6 separate regions of the Homo sapiens genome follow, and all the other regions are linked to region 4. The links are contacts of gene promoters, found by promoter capture Hi-C in blood cells and fetal thymus (Javierre and others, 2016). All regions are on one chromosome and are shown on one strand. The core of a region is centred on a gene start or on the middle of the fragment in contact, and the rest is flanking DNA. Distances in the headings are between cores, read along the strand shown. Region 1 overlaps LINC03112 (long intergenic non-protein coding RNA 3112). Region 2 has its middle 24 kb from the start of ZBED1. Region 3 has its middle 24 kb from the start of LINC00102. Region 4 holds the start of ASMTL-AS1 (ASMTL antisense RNA 1). Region 5 holds the start of LINC00102 (long intergenic non-protein coding RNA 102). Region 6 holds the start of DHRSX (dehydrogenase/reductase X-linked).

Evidence for each region. The method cuts DNA at HindIII sites, captures the fragments that hold promoters and counts their contacts. A CHiCAGO score of 5 or more calls a contact.
Region 1: a contact is called between a fragment that was not itself captured here and the fragment with the promoter of ASMTL-AS1 in region 4, in 3 of 17 cell types (activated CD4 T cells, total CD4 T cells and naive CD4 T cells). The highest score is 7.9, in activated CD4 T cells.
Region 2: a fragment that was not itself captured here is called in contact with the fragment with the promoter of ASMTL-AS1 in region 4 in 1 of 17 cell types (total B cells); the score reaches 6.3 in total B cells.
Region 3: a fragment that was not itself captured here is called in contact with the fragment with the promoter of ASMTL-AS1 in region 4 in 1 of 17 cell types (naive CD8 T cells); the score reaches 5.6 in naive CD8 T cells.
Region 5: a fragment that was not itself captured here is called in contact with the fragment with the promoter of ASMTL-AS1 in region 4 in 2 of 17 cell types (naive CD4 T cells and total B cells); the score reaches 6.0 in naive CD4 T cells.
Region 6: the fragment with the promoter of DHRSX here is called in contact with the fragment with the promoter of ASMTL-AS1 in region 4 in 6 of 17 cell types (naive CD8 T cells, total B cells, activated CD4 T cells and 3 more); the score reaches 13.5 in naive CD8 T cells.

What each region holds. Positions count from the first base shown.
Region 1 is chrX:2,594,466-2,597,644 of GRCh38, forward strand. The region is part of intron 1 of LINC03112 (long intergenic non-protein coding RNA 3112); the gene reads right to left. Among named protein-coding and RNA genes, the nearest start is that of LINC03112, 13 kb to the right of the region's middle. The HindIII fragment of the contact is 2,296 bases long and covers 395-2,690 here.
Region 2 is chrX:2,523,533-2,526,624 of GRCh38, forward strand. No RefSeq gene overlaps it. Among named protein-coding and RNA genes, the nearest start is that of ZBED1, 24 kb to the left of the region's middle. The HindIII fragment of the contact is 8,308 bases long and covers 1-3,092 here.
Region 3 is chrX:2,637,513-2,640,630 of GRCh38, forward strand. It overlaps the pseudogene CD99P1. Among named protein-coding and RNA genes, the nearest start is that of LINC00102, 24 kb to the left of the region's middle. The HindIII fragment of the contact is 6,491 bases long and covers 1-3,118 here.
Region 4 is chrX:1,399,024-1,402,039 of GRCh38, forward strand. ASMTL-AS1 (ASMTL antisense RNA 1) reads left to right here and starts at 1,508. Exons shown (of 6, transcript NR_026711.1): 1 at 1,508-1,563; 2 at 2,439-3,016. LINC00106 (long intergenic non-protein coding RNA 106) reads left to right here. Exons shown (of 3, transcript NR_130733.1): 3 at 344-389. The HindIII fragment of the contact is 21,745 bases long and covers 1-3,016 here.
Region 5 is chrX:2,614,173-2,616,982 of GRCh38, forward strand. LINC00102 (long intergenic non-protein coding RNA 102) reads right to left here and starts at 1,175. Exons shown (of 2, transcript NR_037842.1): 1 at 545-1,175. It also overlaps the pseudogene CD99P1. The HindIII fragment of the contact is 2,699 bases long and covers 92-2,790 here.
Region 6 is chrX:2,499,595-2,502,404 of GRCh38, forward strand. It overlaps DHRSX (dehydrogenase/reductase X-linked), which reads right to left and starts at 1,382. Exons shown (of 7, transcript NM_145177.3): 1 at 1,223-1,382. The coding sequence starts at 1,331. ZBED1 (zinc finger BED-type containing 1) reads right to left here and starts at 1,382. Exons shown (of 2, transcript NM_001171136.2): 1 at 1,223-1,382. The HindIII fragment of the contact is 4,150 bases long and covers 1-2,810 here.

The sequences.
Region 1 (3,179 bases), core at 293-2,792, 1.2 Mb after region 4:
ATTCTTTTTCCACCAACCGAGAAGAGAAGCAGCATCCCATCAGAGGGGGTTGATCCAAGCCATCTACTGTATTAGTTCATGAGAAATGACTGGCTGTAACACATGAGCCCTGGAATTTCTGTGGCTTAACAATTAAATAATTATTTCTCACTCATCCAGTTGTCCAGTGTAAGACTTAGGGACCCCTGAGCAGGCGGCCAGCTCTCAGCAAAGACAGCACAGTACCAGGGAAGGGTCACAGGAATTTTGGCACATGGCCAGCTGGTTCCACTGCACCTGCCCAGGGACGCTGGTCTCCAGGCTCCTGGCTTCTCAGCCTCAGCACAGATGTCTGCATCCCCAGAATTTTAAGGGAGGCTGCTGGAAGCCGGGGCAGGAGGTGGGATGAGAATGAAGCTTTTCAGAGCAGAGACCATAACAGACCAATTTTCAAATTGTCTGAAAATGGAGCATGACCCAAATTCTTAGGAGACTCTAGGGAGGAGAGGGAACCGCAATAATAGCCGACATCACATTTCCCAGGGGAGTGGAGTCTAAGAGTCAGATTTGAGTCCGTTTAGATTGAAATTGGAAAGATACAGAGATGGAAGAGTCTGATGTTTCCTCAAAAGGTTAACCGAAGACATACCATATGTAGTAGTTTGTTTTCACACTGCTGATAAAGACATACCCAAAATTGGGCAACTAACAGAAGAAAGAGAGGTTTAATGAACTTATAGTTCCATGTGGCTGGGGAGGCCTCACAATCATGGCAGAAGGCAAGGAGAAGCAAGTCACGTCTTACATGGATGGTAGCAGGCAAAGAGAGAGCTTGTGCAGGAAAACTCCCTTTTATAAAATCATCAGATCTCATGAGACTTATTCACTACCATGAGTACAGCATGGGAAAGACCTGTCCCCATGATTCAATTACCTCCCACAACACATGGGAATTCAAGATGAGATTTGGGTGGGGACACAGCCAAACCACATCACCCTATGAGCCAGCAATTCTGCTTCTGGGCACATACTCAAGAGAAAAACGAGAACACGTGTCCACCAAATAGCTTGTACATTTATACACGTAATGTTGATAGCTGCACTACTCAAAATAGCCAAAAAGTGAAGGTGACCCAAACGTCCCTCAGCCAATGAACGGATTTAACAAAATATGGCATATCCATACAGTGGAATGTGATTCAGGCAGAAAAAGGTTTCAAGTGCTGACACATGCTACAGTGTGGGTGAGCCTTACAAACATACACTGGCCAGGTGCAGTGGCTCCTTCCCGTAATCCCAACACATTGGGTGGCCAAGGCAGGTGGATTCCTGGAGGCCTGGAGTTTGAGACCAGCCTGGTCAACACGGTGAAACCCCATCTCTACTAAAAGGAAAATGCAAAAATTAGCCAGGTGCGGTGGTGCACACCTGTACTCCCAGCTACTCGGGAGGCTGGGGCACGAGAATTGGTTTAGCCTGGGAGATGGAGGTTGTAGTGTGCAGTGAGCCAAAATCATGTCACTGCACTCCAGCCTGGGTGACAGAGAGTGAGACTCTGTCTCAAACAAACAAACAAAAACAAAAACAAAAAAAAAACCAAAAAAGCCCACTAACCCTAATGATTGCTGATGAGCTTTTTATAAAAATCGCAATCTTGGTCTCCTAAGTCATATTTTGGGTGGCGTATCTTGGTCTCCTAAGTCATATTTTGGGTGGCATATCTCGGTATCTTATAGGACATTCCTTTAGGTATTGCTCATTCACCCAAGGTGGCAGATTCCTATGGATTCCATCATAAATCAAGGACATGAATGAAGCCAATATTCTGTTCCCTCCCATTATGAATAAGCATCATAAACAAGACACAGGAAAAACCATGTTTTGGCTCACGCTTTCCATAGAACTCCCATAGCCCTGAAATAGTCTGCTTTATTCATAGCAATGTGCCACCAGGACATACTTGTTTATTCCTTGCAGAAATTAAGGGTAATGACAACCACTTTCAGTTTAGCATACCATTTTGAGCATGTAACTGAAAAGTGCATTCACTGTATCTCCAAAAATAATGATATACATGCATATTTGTTTCTTGCAAACAAATATAAGTGCTCACACTATATCTCCAAAATGATATGCATGCATATTTTTTTCTTGCAAACAAAGTGCTCACGCTATATCTCCAAAATAATGATATGCATGCATATTTGTTTCTTGATAGGACAGATGTAAATATTTATGTGTGCTAAGATGTGGGGGACATTGAAAGGCTGCTGGGGTTTTTGCAGGCCCCTTAGAAGTGTTGCATGTGTTAAGAAGATGGGAAATACCCTCTTCCATAATTTATGGATGCTAACTACATTCTCTAGCTCCCTTTCAGAGCCTGTCAGATACAAATGTAAAATTGTGTTTCCTCTCTCCCCATTATTTTTCCATGGATGTCATTTAGGAAATGAAAACGAACTCATGAGGACATGAGGATTGGATTGGATTCGACCACGAGAGTGATGGAGGGGTTTCAACAAAGTTCACCAAACTCCAGGCTCTTCATGGTGTCTGTCCACATGATTCAAAGTGTGACACACCCAGGCTTCCCGGAATTTAATTGACAGGTAACGTTTCAACATGTTTTCTGGAAGCACAGAAAGTCTAGATTTCAAGGAGGTGACTCTTTTCTCCCCAAAGCAGACCTTGAGACCGTGATTTTACCGCAAAGCTTTTGTGTTTGGGGAGGGTGGGCGGGGGTGAGTCCCAGGGAGCAGTGGGAGGGGAGAGGGAGTGAAGACAGAGAGTGGAAGATATTATCAGGCCAGTGACTGCAATGAGAGCTTGGAGACTCAGGGTCATCCCACCGGAAGAGTGAGGAAGGCCGGGGTCTTTTTCTGTCGTTTCCCAACATGTGTTGGCTGAGGTTGCTTCCAGGATGGGGGCATATGCTAGTTTTCTTGCACTTCCAATCTGCTCAATGGGTGGTGTATTCGGCTCTTCTTGTACTGCTATAAAGAAATACCTGAGAATGGGTAATTGATAAAGAAGAGAGGTTTAATCGGCTCACAGTTCTGCAGGCTGGACAGGAAGCCTGACTGGGGAAGCCTCAGGAAACTTACAATTATGGCAGAAGGCAAAGGGCAAGCAGGTGCATCTTACATGGTTAGAACAGGAGCAGGAGAGAGAGTGAGAAGGGAGGTGCCACACACTATTAA
Region 2 (3,092 bases), core at 303-2,802, 1.1 Mb after region 4:
CAAACCCCATCTAATCATGAAGAAAACATCAGAAAAGGCCAGGGGCGGTGGCTCACTCCTGTAATAATTAAAAAATTAAAATTAAAAAAATCAGCTGTGGGCATGGTGGCGGGCACCTGTAGTCCCAGCTACTCAGGAGGCTGAGGCAGGAGAATGGCGTGAACGCGGGAGGCAGAGGTTGCAGTCAGCCGAGACTGCGCCACTGCACTCCAACCTAGGCGACAGAGTGAGACTCCATCTCAAAGAAAAAGAAAGAAAACATGAGAAAAATCCCAATAAAAGGACTTCCGTCAAAAGGCTTGCCCAGTGCTTTTCAAAGCTGTCCAGGTCATTCATCTGAATCAAGAAACGTCTGGAAAACTGTCCCAGCCAAGAGGGAACCCAGGTAGAAGTAATAACTAAACACCCTGTGGAACTGTGGGGCCTGTGAAAGGAAACTAACCCGGGCCCCGACAAGCTGGGAAGTGCCCAGGGCAAATCGGCCTCTCATTTTATTCAAGGTCACCCCTCTGCTTACTGAGATAGACGCATATTCTAATTGCCTCCTTTGGAGAGGCTAATCAGAAACTCAAAAGAAGCAACCATATGTTTCCCACCTACCTGTGACCTGGAAGCTCCCTCTCTGCTTCCAGTTGTCCCCGCCTTTCTGGAAGGAACCAATGGACTTCTTACATATATTGATTGATGGCTCATGTGTGCCTAAAATGTATAAAACCAAGCTGTGCCCCGACCACCTAGGGCACATGTCATCAGGACCCCATGAGGCTGTGTCACAGGTGCGCATCCTTAACTTTGGCAAATAAACTTCCTAAAATGATTGACAATTGTCTTCTAATTTTCTTGACTGACAGACCCTGGATGGGATCCTAAACATTAGAAAAAAACTAAAGAAATCTGAATAGGGTATGGGCTGGTTAATAGTAATGTATCAAGAGTGGTTGGTTAATTGCCACAAATGCACCGTACTAATTGAAGATGTTTATGACGGGGGTATAAAAGAGCTCCTTGTGGTATGTTTGAAACTTTTCTGCAAATCTGAAATCATTCTGAAACAAAAAATGTAACTTAAATCGACATTAAATGTCAAATTGCACTCTGTTAAAGAATCAAGATTAAGATTCAAGTTCCTCTCAATAAACTACAGATTAAAAACCCCTCAAAGGGCCGGGCACAGTGGTTCATGCCCTGTAATCCCAGCACTTTGGGAGGCTGAGGCAGGTGGATCACCTGAGGTCAGGAGTTTGAGACCAGCCTGGCCAACAAGGTGAAACCCCATCTCTACTAAAAATACAAAAATTAGCCATGTGTGGTGGTGTGTACCTGTAGTCCCAGCTACTCGGGAGGCTGAGGCAGGAGAATCGCTTGAATCCGGAGGTGGAGATTGTAGTCAGCTGAGATCGTGCCGTTGTACTCCAGCCTAGAGACAAAGCAAGACTCTGTGTCAAAACAAAAACAAAAACAAAAAACAAACAAACAAAAACCCTCCAACGATCTCCTCAATCTCTTCTAACTCTATGCATGAGAATCTGTAAATATTATAGCAGCAGGCAGCATTACAGAGCCCCAAAAGACCTATGTTCGTTCAACATGCCCTGATTCACTATTTCGCCCAAGGAGACTCTGATAGCAGAGGCGACATGTCAGTTCATCTTTTATTCAATGCAGAAGTGTCCCAGATTGATTCTGTCTTCAGAAACTGTGCTGACTGCAATACTCTAAAAACTGAGCCTATACCTGGGTAAGCTGGTTTTCTGTGAAACAAGTTTATAGGAGAAGCATCACAGATCACCCAGTGTTTAAAATATCACTGCATTCAAATATCATTATTTAAAAGAAATGAATACAATCATCATAATAAAAATGCAATCTTTCCAGCATGAGTTTCTGGGGAATCTGCATATTTTTGATCCTCTTGGGTCCTGTGTCATCCTCCCTGACACGGAGATAACATTGTAAACGTGAGGTTTTTGAAATTACGTAAGTGATATTCTGTGAAATATCAACCATAATGATTGTATGCAGTAAGTGTTCAATAAATACTAAATGTGATTTTTGTGATGTGCGATACATGTCAACGCTTCACTTTAAAATTGGTGGAATTACTCTAATAATTATTTTCCCATGAAAAATGTGGTATTTAGCACTTTTATTGGCATCTTACACACAGTGTGTCTGTTATTCCCCCAGACATTGTAGGTTAGTCTTCGCTTCCCTCCCATTTCCTCTCCTCTCCTCCCCTTTCCTTTTTCCTCACTCTCTTCCTCCCTTCCTCTCTCTCTCTCACCCTCTCTTTCCTTCTTTCTTCCCTCCCTCCCTCCCTTCCTTCCTTCTCGACAGGGTCTTGCTCTATCACCCAGGCTGGAGTGCAGTGGCACACTCACACCTTACTGCAGCCTCAAACCCCTGGGGTCAGTTTGTCTTTCCATCTCGGCCTCCTGAGTGGCTGGAACTATAGACAAGCACTCACCATACTCAGCTAAATTTTTTTATTTTTTGTAGAGCTGGGGGTTCTCACTATGTTGCCCAGGCTGGTCTTGAACTCCTGGGCTCAAGCAATCTTCCCACCTTGGCCTCCCAAAGCACTGGGGTTATAGGCATGAGCCACTGCACCCAGCCTGGGTGATAGAGTTATTTTTTTCTTATATTTCATCACATATCCATGCCTGGGTTACCTTCCATAGTGTTATTTTACCACAACGACAACAAAATTCCTTTAAAAATTTTTTTCTAGAAATCCATAAATACATATGTCAACAAAGTTAAGCTGTTGAGTTAAGCCTAGTTAGGTGAAGGTTTGCCTTAGAGGTAGTGTGTTTAGACTTGACTTGGGAAAAATAGACACATATTGGAGGAATCCTCTGGAATTTAAGGGCACGGAAGAATGTTGGTGATATGGTTTGACTGTCCCCACCCAAATCTCATCTGAATTGTAGCTCCCGTATTTCCCACGTGGTGTGGGAGGGACCAGGTGGGAGATAACTGAATCATGAGGGCGGTTTCCCCGATACTGCTCTTGTGGTAGTGAATGAGTCTCAAGAGAACTGATGGTTTTATAAGGGGAAACCCCCTTCACTTGGCTCTCATTTTCTCTT
Region 3 (3,118 bases), core at 86-2,585, 1.2 Mb after region 4:
AGACAGGGTAGGTGGGTAGATAGATGAAGACATGGATAGATAAATATACACAGAGATAGATCAATGATAGAAATGGGTATATAGATATATGAATGATAGAAGATATTTTGAGAGAGAGATGATTAATAGGCAATTGATTGACATATTAGATGACAGATAAAAAGTGGGTAAAATGCAAGTAAACTGTAAGCCAAACGTCCACGTGGAATAGCGTGGGAAGCATTGAGAAGACGCTTTTTGGTGCTACCTGTTTAAACATTGAAAAACTGAGCTAATACCCTCCACAGTACGATAGAGGGGAGGGCACTGGGAATTTATACCTCCCAGGAAAAATAAATCATGGTAAACAGGCAGAGATCTTTCCAGATTCCAGTTCTTGGGGGTAAAAGGTCCCCAAGATGCCCAGTTTGTGACAACCTGTTTTGAACTATTCAGCTCAAGGTTTCCATTTTTTCTCCCAGGGGAGTTGCCTCGATTCTGATGTGTTTGCTTCGGTGCTCTGTGTATTGTATTCATCCCACTCTTCAATTCATAAACTCTGGAGATTCTTCAATTCACTGGGCAAACCATATGCCTAAGTCTATCCTCTGATGGAGGCTCGTACATGCAAAATCCAATAGCAACCTGGGAAGATTTCAGTCAAGACCCAAGAGGAGGCTGGCATCAGGCTCTCGGTCACCGATCTTCACATTCAGGTTTCCTGATGCACTTTGCGACTCTTTGGGCAACCTCTGGACTCCTTGTTCCCAGGGTCCACATTTAGTTTTATCTTTACTGCATTGCTTTTATGAAAAAGAATAAAATTGGATGAAACAGATACAGAGTATTGGTGTCAACCTAAGTATTGGTGTCAACAAAGAGATGGTTTGGATCTGGTTCCCCACCACATCTTAGGTTGAGTTGGAATCCCCGGTTTGGAGGTGGCGCCTGGTGGGAGGTGACTGCATTATGCGGGTGGTTTCCATTGAATGGTTTACCACTGTCCCCCATGGTGCTGTTGTGGCGGAAGTGAGTTATCATCCAATCTGGTTGTTTAAAGGGTGCAACAACTTCCCCACCCCGTCCTGCTCCTGCTGTGGCCATGTAAGATGTGCCTGTTTCCCCTCTGCCTTCCGCCATGATTGTAAATTTCCTGAGGCCTCCCCAGCCGTGCTTCCTGTACTGCCTGTGGAACCGTGAGCCAATTTAAACCTCTTTTTCTTTATAAAATTACCCTGTCTCAGGTATTTCTTTATAGCAGCGTAAGGACTGACTAATACACTCTGTAATAGAAAAGATGTTTATTTGGGAGTATAGTAGTGCGCTGAGAATAGATGTGCCATATTAAACTGTGTTCATATTCAGGGAGGTAAAGGGGAAAAAAGGATTTTAAAGGAAATAATGAAGAGGATTCCATAATTCTTTTCAAATGATTATCCTTGGCTAAAAAGATCAATAACATGGTGACACCAGTCTGAGTTTGGACAGCCAGTTTTTGGGCAGATGTCCTCGTGGAAGTATTTTTCTTTGCAAGGGTGAGATTTTTGCAGTCTCTTACGATAGTTTTTGTTATCAGGCATATAAGCATAAAAACCATTAATATACACTAGAGATGCATTGAAGAGCTTATAAAATTGTTAAGGTTTTCTTCTTTGGTCAGTGTCTAAAATATGAGTCAGATATTTCCTTGGTTATCTTTGAGATTTATGTGGTCCCAGGTTTCTCCTGGGTGGGTAGAAATTACTGCAGCATGTACAAAACTGTCCTTCATGCCATATTTCTTCCTACCATTATACGATGAAAACTAACAAAAGAGAGTTTTATAAAATGTTCTTCCTCTTTCTCTCTGGTACCAATAGGAAGCACAATTGTTTCCCCATGGTTCTTCACAAAGGTTCTATTGCACTAAGTTTTAAAGCCTTGTGTATACACAATCACATTCACATATACCACACATACACGTGCATATACACAGTTACATCCGTACAGATACATACATGCACATGTATACACAGATAAACACATACATGCACAAATATAGACACATACACAGACACACATTCACATGTATGCGGACACACACACATAGACACATATACCTATGCACAGAAACCATACAGATATACACATACATAACATACATGCACAGGTATACATACAAACATACACAGATATGTGCATACACATATACACACATAACACATGCATGCACACATATCCACAAGCCTGCAGATATACACACGTACACACAGATATGCATATTCATACATACCAAACATACATTCATACTTACACCTATACACACACATACACAAACACATACAGAGATATACACACATGCACACAAATACATACACACATACATACACAGATACACATGTACATACATACCAAACATACATGCATACTTACACCTACACACATACACAAACACATATACACAAACACACATACACAGGGATATGCACATGCACACAGATACCCACATACACACGTACATACTCACATAGAGTTACACACACACACGTGCACACGCAACTTTGGCATAATGGAAATTTGATGATTGGTCATTGGAGTCAACCATACAGCCCCTGTCAGAAACAAAGGACCAAAGTCGAAGGGGACATGGATGCACAAACATCTCAACATCTACGGAACCACGTAACTTGGAGAAACATGCAACCAACTAAGGACAGAAGATTCGAGTGACTGCAACTCTGTTTTTTTTTTTTTTTTGAGATGGAGTTTCGCTCTTGTCACCCAGGCTGGAGTGCAATGGTGTGATCTCGGCTCACCGCAACCCCCGCCTCCTGGGTTCAAGCGATTCTCCCACTTCAGCCTCCTGAATAGCTGGGATTACAGGCATGCACCACCATGCCCAGCTAATTTCATATTTTTAGTAGAGATGGGGTTTCTCCGTGTTGGTCAGGCTGGTCTCGAACTCCCAACCTCAGGTGATCCGCCTCCCTCGGCCTCCCAAAGTGCTGCGATTACATGCGTGAGCCACCGTGCCCGTCCTAACTGCAGCTCTTACTTTGGAATTCAGGCAGCTACGGAGCCAAGATTCCTGGAGCCCACAGGCGTGTGGCTAATACATTTCCCTTCCTTTCCATAGAATTGGGTTGGTTTTGTTGCACTG
Region 4 (3,016 bases), core at 258-2,757:
GCTGGGGCAGCCCGAGGTGACCGGGATGCTGTCGCCCCAGCTCTGGGCCAGGCTGATGTGGGAAGGGAGGAAGGAGGGACAGTTACGGGCCAGGCTGACGTGGGAAGGGAGGGAGGAGGGAGGTAGGAGGGACAGAGGCCTGGCTGCTCTGCAGGGCTGGGCTCCGTGGCATCTCCTGGTGGCTGTCAGGTCCTGCCTGGCCCCACGCTGAGGCCAGTGTGATGGAGGGGCCTGGAAGCCTCATCCTTCTTGATTGCCACGCGGTGAGGGCCACAGGCATGCGCCACCGCACTGGACTCCCCCTTTCATCATCAAAGCCAAATTTTCTTCTTGTTTCATCTAGGCCTCCCATGGAGACACCATGTGTGATTGTAAAAAAAAAAAAAAAATGAGTCAGGCCGGGCACGGTGGCTCACGCCTGCAATGCCAGCACTTTAGGAGGCCGAGGTGGGCAGATCACCTGAGGTCAGGAGTTCGAGACCAGCCTGGCCAACATGGTGAAACCCCGTCTCTACTAAAAATAGAAAAATTAGCCGCGTGTGGTGGCGCATGCCCGTAATCCCTGCACTGTGGGAGGCCGAGGTGGGCGGATCACCTGAGGTTAGGAGTTCTAGACCACCCTGGCCAACATGGTGAAACCCCGTCTCTACTAAAAATACAAAAATTAGCTGGGTTTGGTGGTGCGTGCCTGTAATCCCAGCACTTTGGGAGGCCAAGGTGGGCGGATTACCTGAGGTCGGGAGTTCCAGACCAACCTGGCCAACATGGTGAAACCCCATCTCTACTAAAAACACAAAAATTAGGCGGGCATGGTGGTGGGTGCCTGTAATCCCAGCTACTCAGGAGGCTGAGACAGGATAACTACTTGATCCCGGGAGGTGGAGGTTGTAGTGAGCCAAGATCGTGCCATTGCACTCCAGCCTGGGCAACAGAGTGAGATTCTGTCTCAAAAAAGAAAAAAACAGACCAAAAAAAAAACGGAGTCTGTCCAGAATTATACACAGTCACCTGTGCCAGGTAACAACCCTTCAGTCAACAACGGCCTTCCTAGACAGCGGAGGTCCCAGGAGATGGTAATACAGTAGTTTTCGTGTGCCTTTATTTGTAGACACACAAATCCCTACCATTGTATTACAGCAGCCTGCAGCACTGGGCACACTCACCTGCTGTCCAGGTTTGTAGCCCGGGAGCCTGGGGCCCTGCCGCACAGCCCAGGTGAGTAGCAGGCTGTATGTGCCACGGCGGTATGTGTGAGTGCACCCCGTGATGGGCACACAAAGAGAATTGCCTAAGGATGCATTTCCCGAAACAGGTCCCTGTCATTCAGTGACACACGTGACTGTGTGTGTGTGTGTGTGTGTGTGCGCACAGATGGGTGTGTATGTGTATGTATACACACCTGAACACTCACACCTCTACACACGTGCCTGTACACGGATAGAACACATAATTTACAGAATTTATGGAACACATAATTTATATTACATAAAATATATAGAGATCAGTTTTGTTTTCTTTTATTTATTTATTTAGACGGAGTCTCACTCTGTCGCCCAGGCTGGAGTGCAGTGGCACAATCTCGGCTCACTGCAACCTCCACCTACTGGGTTCAAGCCATCCTCCTGTCTCAGCCTCCCCCCTGTAGCTGGGATTATAGGCTCCTGCCACTATGCCCGGCTAGTGTTTGTATTTTGTGTAGAGACAGGATTTCACTCTGTTGGCCAGGCTGGTCTCGAATTCCTGACCACAGGTGATCCGCCCACCTCAGCCTCCCAAAGTGCTGGGATGACAGGCGTGAGCCACTGCACCCAGCCTATTTCAGCTGTTTTCTTAAAGCACAAAGCAACCTACACATTCTTTTGTGATACCAGGCCACTGTAAGGGTGGAGCAGCATGTGACTTTGGTGTTATTGAGATCATCCGTGACCATTGCAGAAAACCACTCCCATCTGTGCAGTGAGCACCTTGAAATAGGCCGCCCAGGAGGCAGAGGGTGCACCTTGAAATTGGGCTAGGAGGCGGAGCTTGCGCCTTGAAATAGGCCGCCCGGGAGGCGGGGCTTGCACCTTGAAATAGGCCGCCCAGAAGGCGGGGTTGCACCTTGAAATAGGCCACCCAGGAGGCGGGGCTTGCCCCTTGAAATAGGCCGCCCAGGAGGCGGGGTTGCACCTTGAAATAGGCTGCCTGGGAGGCAGAGCTCGCACCTTGATATAGGCCGCCCAGGAGGCAGGGCTTGCCCCTTGAAATAGGCCGCCCGGGAGGTGGGGTTGCACCTTGAAACAGGCCGCCTGGGAGGCGGAGCTTGCACCTTGTAATAGGCCGCCCGGGAGGCGGGGCTTGCACCTTGAAATAGGCCTAGAAGGTGGGGCTTCCACCTTGAAATAGGCCGCCCAGGAGGCGGAGTTTGCACCTTGAAATAGACTGCCCAGGAGGCGGAGGTTGCAGTGAGCCGAGATTGCATTATTGTACTCCAGTCTGGGTAAGAAGAGCTAAACTCCAGAGTCTGTCTCAGAAAAAGGAAAACAGCTGAAATATAGGAGACTGACGCCCAGCCCAGGAACAGGTAAGCTGGGTGCACGCGCCGTGAAAACAGCACCTAGGCCTGCTCCGGTTCTCGCTTTGCAGATGCCTCCTGAACCTCAGTGCCTCCTAAGGTCAAGGCTGTGAGTTAAAGGGCTCCACCCCAGCCCAGCCCCAGGTTGGCCCAGCCATTCCCTGGTGGAGGGGCCAGGGAGGAAAGGGGGCTGTGTGGGCACCAGAGGGTGAACTGAGGTCTGAGGGTCGGGACACAGGCCGGGAACAGCAGCTGGGAGCGGAGCACGGGGGAAACGTGGATGCGCTGAGCTCCCTACAACCGCAGTGAGCATGTGCCCAGGAGGGCCTCACGGGGTGGGTGTGAGTCTGGCCTGCCTGGGCTCGGGGTGGGGGGTGTTTACAGACGCATTTCAGCCCCGCAGCAGGGGCTGGGGAGGTCCCGCTCGTGACAGTCTCTGCACCAAGGCAGGAGAGATGGAAG
Region 5 (2,810 bases), core at 191-2,690, 1.2 Mb after region 4:
ATTTTGATGTAGCCCCTCATGTTTCTTTCATTTGAGCCTCCCTTATCACTCCCAATATAAAATGTGCCTCGACCTTAATTGGGATTTGAAAAGCTTGGAACTAGAAGGCTGGGCCAGGTAAGGTGGCTCACACCTGTAATCCCAGCACCTTAGGAGGCCAAGGCGGCTGGATCACTTGAGGTCAGGAGTTCAAGACCAGCCTGACCAACATGGAGAAACCCTGCCTCTGCTAAAAATACAAAAATTATCCTGGCATGGTGGTGCATGCCTGTAATCCCAGCTACTCGGGAGGCTGAGGCAGGAGAATGGCTTGAACCCGGGAGGCAGAGGTTGCAGTGAGCCGAGATCACACCACTGCACTCCAGCCAGGCAAAAGGACAAAACTCCATATGAAAAAAAAAAAAAAAAAGAACTAGAAGGCTGGCTTTGAAACTAGCATGAATGTCACATTAGTTTGTGGAGCCCAGCTGGGTGGGTAGAGCCACTTTTCAGACACAGATCAGAATCCGTCAGTCACAGATCAGATCACAGTCACCTGCCCTACCTCTTACGGTCTGCCTTGCTGAAGGTGTTGGGGACCTGGGAGGAGATAATGGGGAATCAACGGGACAGAGTTGTGTGCAGGCAGATTCAGAGTCCCAACTGGGTCCAGGCAGCACAGTTGATTTACAAATGACATTCTTTCTCTCTCCCTCTTTCTCTTGCTGTCATCTCTTACTCTTTTCATCTGGGGGAAGAATGATGTGAAAATGATCAGGAATTTACTTTTTCAAATGAGATCCTAGTCAGTGTGATATTCAGAAAAGTCTTTAGTCATGTGGGTCTCTGGTGATTTCTCCATCTGTTTCCGAGGTCATTCCTTCCTCATTTCTCAGAGCTTTACTATGAACAGACCGATTCCTTCCTTTAGGGGCAGACTTTGACTTAGCAGATGCCTTTGGTGAGGGAGGAAACAGTGAGTAACTCGTTAAAGTCTCCTCTGTTGCTGATTTGTTATTGTCACCAAATGACTGTCATTTCCAAGAGACTTATCTCTTTTGCATAATCCATGGATTGGGTTTATACAGTGGAAATATTGGAAGTATATGCCTTGTTGTGTTTTATTTTTGTTGTTGTTGGATTTTTGTTTTTTTTCCCACCAATATGCTGGCTTTTATTTTAAAATTGTTACAGACTTTGGAATGATATAAGGCAAATGTCACTTCCCTGGCCAGGTCAGACTTCATGGGCATGTGACATGTGATGTCACACAGGGACCTGTGCATACAAGGGCACCATATTGGTGTATTACTCAGTAGCTGCCATCTTGAAATTCGTCATAAAATTGGAACAGAATCTTGCATTTTCATTTTGTGCAGGGCCTCTCAAATTCTGGAGGTGGTCTGGACACCTGGCTTAGTTTTCTTTGAAAATACTTGAAGTTAAATCCTGTAGCTGGAAGATGATGGAAGGGAATTGGCAGGAGGCTATGTGTATGGGCATCCCCACCACGACAAAAACAAGGGTCATTTTTTACCTGTTTAGTGAAAGGTCTCTATGCAAATTGATTTTTCATTTCCTTTTCTGGTCGCCATGGAAATTGATTTTTCATTTTCTTGACTGCAAGGCACTGATGATCGCCAACTCTCATGTTTTACAAACAGGTGACCCAGCACCACCTAATCCCCCCAAACCAAAGCCAGATCCAAATCCCAACTGACCTGGTTTCACTGATAAGAGCCTCTAACCCTACGGGGTGGTCTCTATGTTGTTTACCTGGCAGTGATGTCCGTGTCATCTGAGAAGAGGAGATTTCAGGTGAGCCTGTTCCTACTGTTGAATTACAAGGTAATTCCAGTGTTCAAGTAGTGGAAAACCTAGATTACGAAAATATGTTTTTGGTTTGGATTTTATTTTCCTTTTCTTGATTTTACTTCAAAGATAAATGGAACTTCCAAATCATTGAATAAGAGCTTTTAGATGTAGACTTGATATGAGGAAAAGAATCTGTGTGTTTCCCATGGAGAAGCCAACTTGTTTTAAACAATTAGATTTTTACTGAGTGTTTTTCTTTACATGTTTGTTTAATTTTTAACACAGAAATCTATCCAGATGGTCTAAATCCTGTTGACATTTTTATGGTTTTTTGCTGGTTATGTTATTATTGGCATAAGAATATTCCTTGACCATTTTCTCATGTCATTTAATCGTTTGTATCATACGACTTTACATTATTATACTACAGACTTAATTACATACTTTGGTTTCTTTAAGTAATCCCTAATTCTGAAGTTATGTTTCTTCTGATGTTTTGGAATTATCAATTACAAAGCAAATTTGACTGCCCTTCATGCACTTTCCTTTATGTTTGAAGATATATTTCTAGAGTGCAAGTTGTTTACATCGATGTGTGTGAGTACTTTTGTAGCTTCTGACATGGTTTTGAAATTGCCCCAGAATTGCACCAATTTATTTTGATGGCGGCGGGGTGTGCAGATGACCCTTTCCTCACACCGTCTCCGATATTGGTGTTCACCAAAACATCTTTATCCAGTAGTGCAAAATGTCATGCTAACCTTGTCTTAGTTTCACGTCTTTAATTCTGAAACTTGAAACAAAAACAATGCATCAGTGGGCCATGGAGACTTCTTCTTCTGTGTATGGGATACTGTGTCTTTTATTCTTCTATTCTGGTATGTCCTCCCTGATTTCTAGTCATTTTTGAATTATTTATAGACAGTAAACATTGCCCAATATATTATGAAAATGTGTTTCCACTTTATTGTTGCCTCTGAAAACATTTTGAACAGAAGCTTTTATAAGCAAGGCTT
Region 6 (2,810 bases), core at 132-2,631, 1.1 Mb after region 4:
ATGCCATCTCTACAAAAAATTTAAAACATTAGCCAGGCGTGGTGGCTCACGCCTGTAAACCCAGCACTTTGGGGGACCCAGGTAGGAGGATTGCTTCGGCCCATGAGTTTCAGACCAGCCTGGGCAACGTAGCAAGACCCTATTGCTACACAAAAAAATTAAAACATTAGACAGGTGTGGTGGCTCACACCTGTAATCCCAACAGTTTGGGAGGCAAAGGAAGGAAGATCGCTTGAGCCCAGGAGTTCGAGACCAGCCTGAGCAACATAGCAAGACCCCGTCTACAAAACTTTAAAACATTAGTCGGATGCAGTAGCTGGTGCCTGTAATGCCAGCACTTTGGGAGGCTGAGGCAGGAGGACTGCTTGAGCCCAGGAGTTCGAGAGTAGCCTCGGCAACAGAGCAAGACTTCATCTCTACTTCCTATTACAAAAAATAATAATAATAATAAATTCTGAACCTGCAAATCTAGGAACAGAAGTTATCTGCATACACAAAACACAGTGGCGGTCATCACTGATGAGTTCAGACAGTGAACGAGTCCTGCAAAGTTGGAGATCTGTGACTCAGAGATGTTTACAAAGGCCAAGGAAACAAAGTTGCCACTTAACGGGCCTGCCCTCCCCACCAGACCTCCGTGGCTCCCCAGTGCCCGAGAAGCCGCCTCTGGGCCCCCTCTGGAGACGTCCTCCGGAGAAGGGCCCATCCTCACTTACCCTGGGGTGGGTAGGGGTCGAGGTCCCTGGGACGCCCGCTCCTCCCCTCCGGGGCCTGGCGGGGGCGCGCGGTCACTGGCCGACCGCAGGCGGCAGGCAGAGCCGCCTGATGTCTTGGGCGCGGGGCGTGCGAGCCCCCGGGTCCCCGGCCATGGCCCGGAGGTGTCAGGGTGCGCGGGGGGGCGGCTGCACGGGGGCTGCTTGGTTGGAGCCCGACCCGGGACAGGCGGGGAGGCCACACGCGCGGGGAGGGAAGGGTCGGGCCGGGTCGGGCCGGGCCAGGCGCGCAGAAGAGCCGGCGGGGACGGAAAGCGCGGGGCGGGGAGGTCCCAGCGCGCACGCCGCCCCCCCCCCACCCCCGGCCACACCTCGACCCCCGCCCAGCCCCACTTCCGGGAGCGCCACCGCCTCGCCAAGGTCACGCGGAGCCCCCGCGCCCCCGCCCCCGAGCCAGCCCGCGCCCACCCGGGTCCCCGGAGCCCTGACCCCTGCCCCGCCCCGCTGACCTGGCTCCAGGAAGCCCCCGCGGCAGCGCCGCAGCAGCTGCGCCAGGATCACCGCGGCGCCTACCGCGTAGACCCGCAGGGCCGCCCGCGCCGCAGACAATGGCGACATGGCTGCCCCGGCCGCGCCGCCGCCGCTTCCGCGCCGCCCGCGGGACTCTGCGCCCGCCCGCCCGGACGGACGGCGGAAACGCGCGCGCCCCGGACCGCCCCCTGCCCGCCCCGAACCGCCCCGGCCTGCGGGGAACCCCCAACCCCAGACCCCGCCCGGGCCCTCTGGGATCCCGCACCGCCTGCAGGACTGGGGACCCCGAGCGGACAACCGACCCCAGCCAGGACACCCCCCCCAGGACCACAGACTCCAGCCAGGAACCCCCCCCTGCAAGGACCATAGACTTCAGCCAGGACCCCCCCCCCCAGGACCACAGACCCCAGCCAGGACGCCCCCAGGACCACTGACCCCAGTCAGGACCCCCCCTTCAGGACCACAGACCCCAGCAGGGACCCCCCACACACACCCCCAGCCAGGACCACAGACCCCAGCCAGGAATCCCCCCCAGGACCACAGACCCCAGCAGGGACCCTCCACACCTCCTCCAGGACCACAGACCCCAGCAGGGACCCTTCCCCCTCCCGGCAGGACTGCAGACCCCAGCAGGGATCCCCACCACCACAAGACCAACAGCCCCAGCCAGGACGCCCCCAGGACTACAGACCCCAGCCAGCACCCAAGTCAGATCCATAGACTCCTCCCAAGAACACCCCCCAGGACCCCAGACCCCTGCTGGGACCCCCAAGACCACAGGCCCCCCCACTGGGGCACGCCCAGACACCCCACCAAGAACCCCACCAGGACTACAGACCTCCACCAGGACTCCCCAGTACCACAGATCCTCCCAGGGCCCCCCAGGACCACAGACCTCCACTGGGACCCCCACCACCAGGACCCCTCTCCAGGATCACAGACCCCTACTGGGGCCCCCTTCTAGGACCTCCACCTCCATCACAACCACCCCCCGGACCACAGGCCCCAGCCAGCACCCCACAAGACCACAGACCCCTGCCAGGACGCCCCCCAGGACTACAGACCCCAGCTGGACTGCCTCTCCAAGACCCCACACTCCAGCCAAGACCATGGAACCCCATTCAAGCCCCAGCCAGGACCCCCACCATGGGATCACAGATCCCCTACCCAGACCCTGCAGGGGACCAGGACCACCACGGGAACCACCCTCCCCATCTTAGCCAGAATCATGTAACCCCACGCAGACCTCAGCAGGGACCACAAGGACTTGGACCCCATAGGGAACCCCAGACAACCACCCAGAGCCATGCCAGGATTATGGACCAGGACTCCCACAGAGGACTCTGAACAGCTGTAAGGACCATGGACCCCACACCCTAATTCGTACTGACACCACAGAACCTGCCCCAAGCACGGACCCCACACCCCAGTTCCTGCTGACACCACAGAACCTGCCCCAAGCACGGACCCCACACCCCAGTTCCTACTGAGACCACAGACCCCACCCCAATTCCTGCCAGGCCACAGACACCACCCACCAAACCTACCCCTCCACTTCCCTGCCCC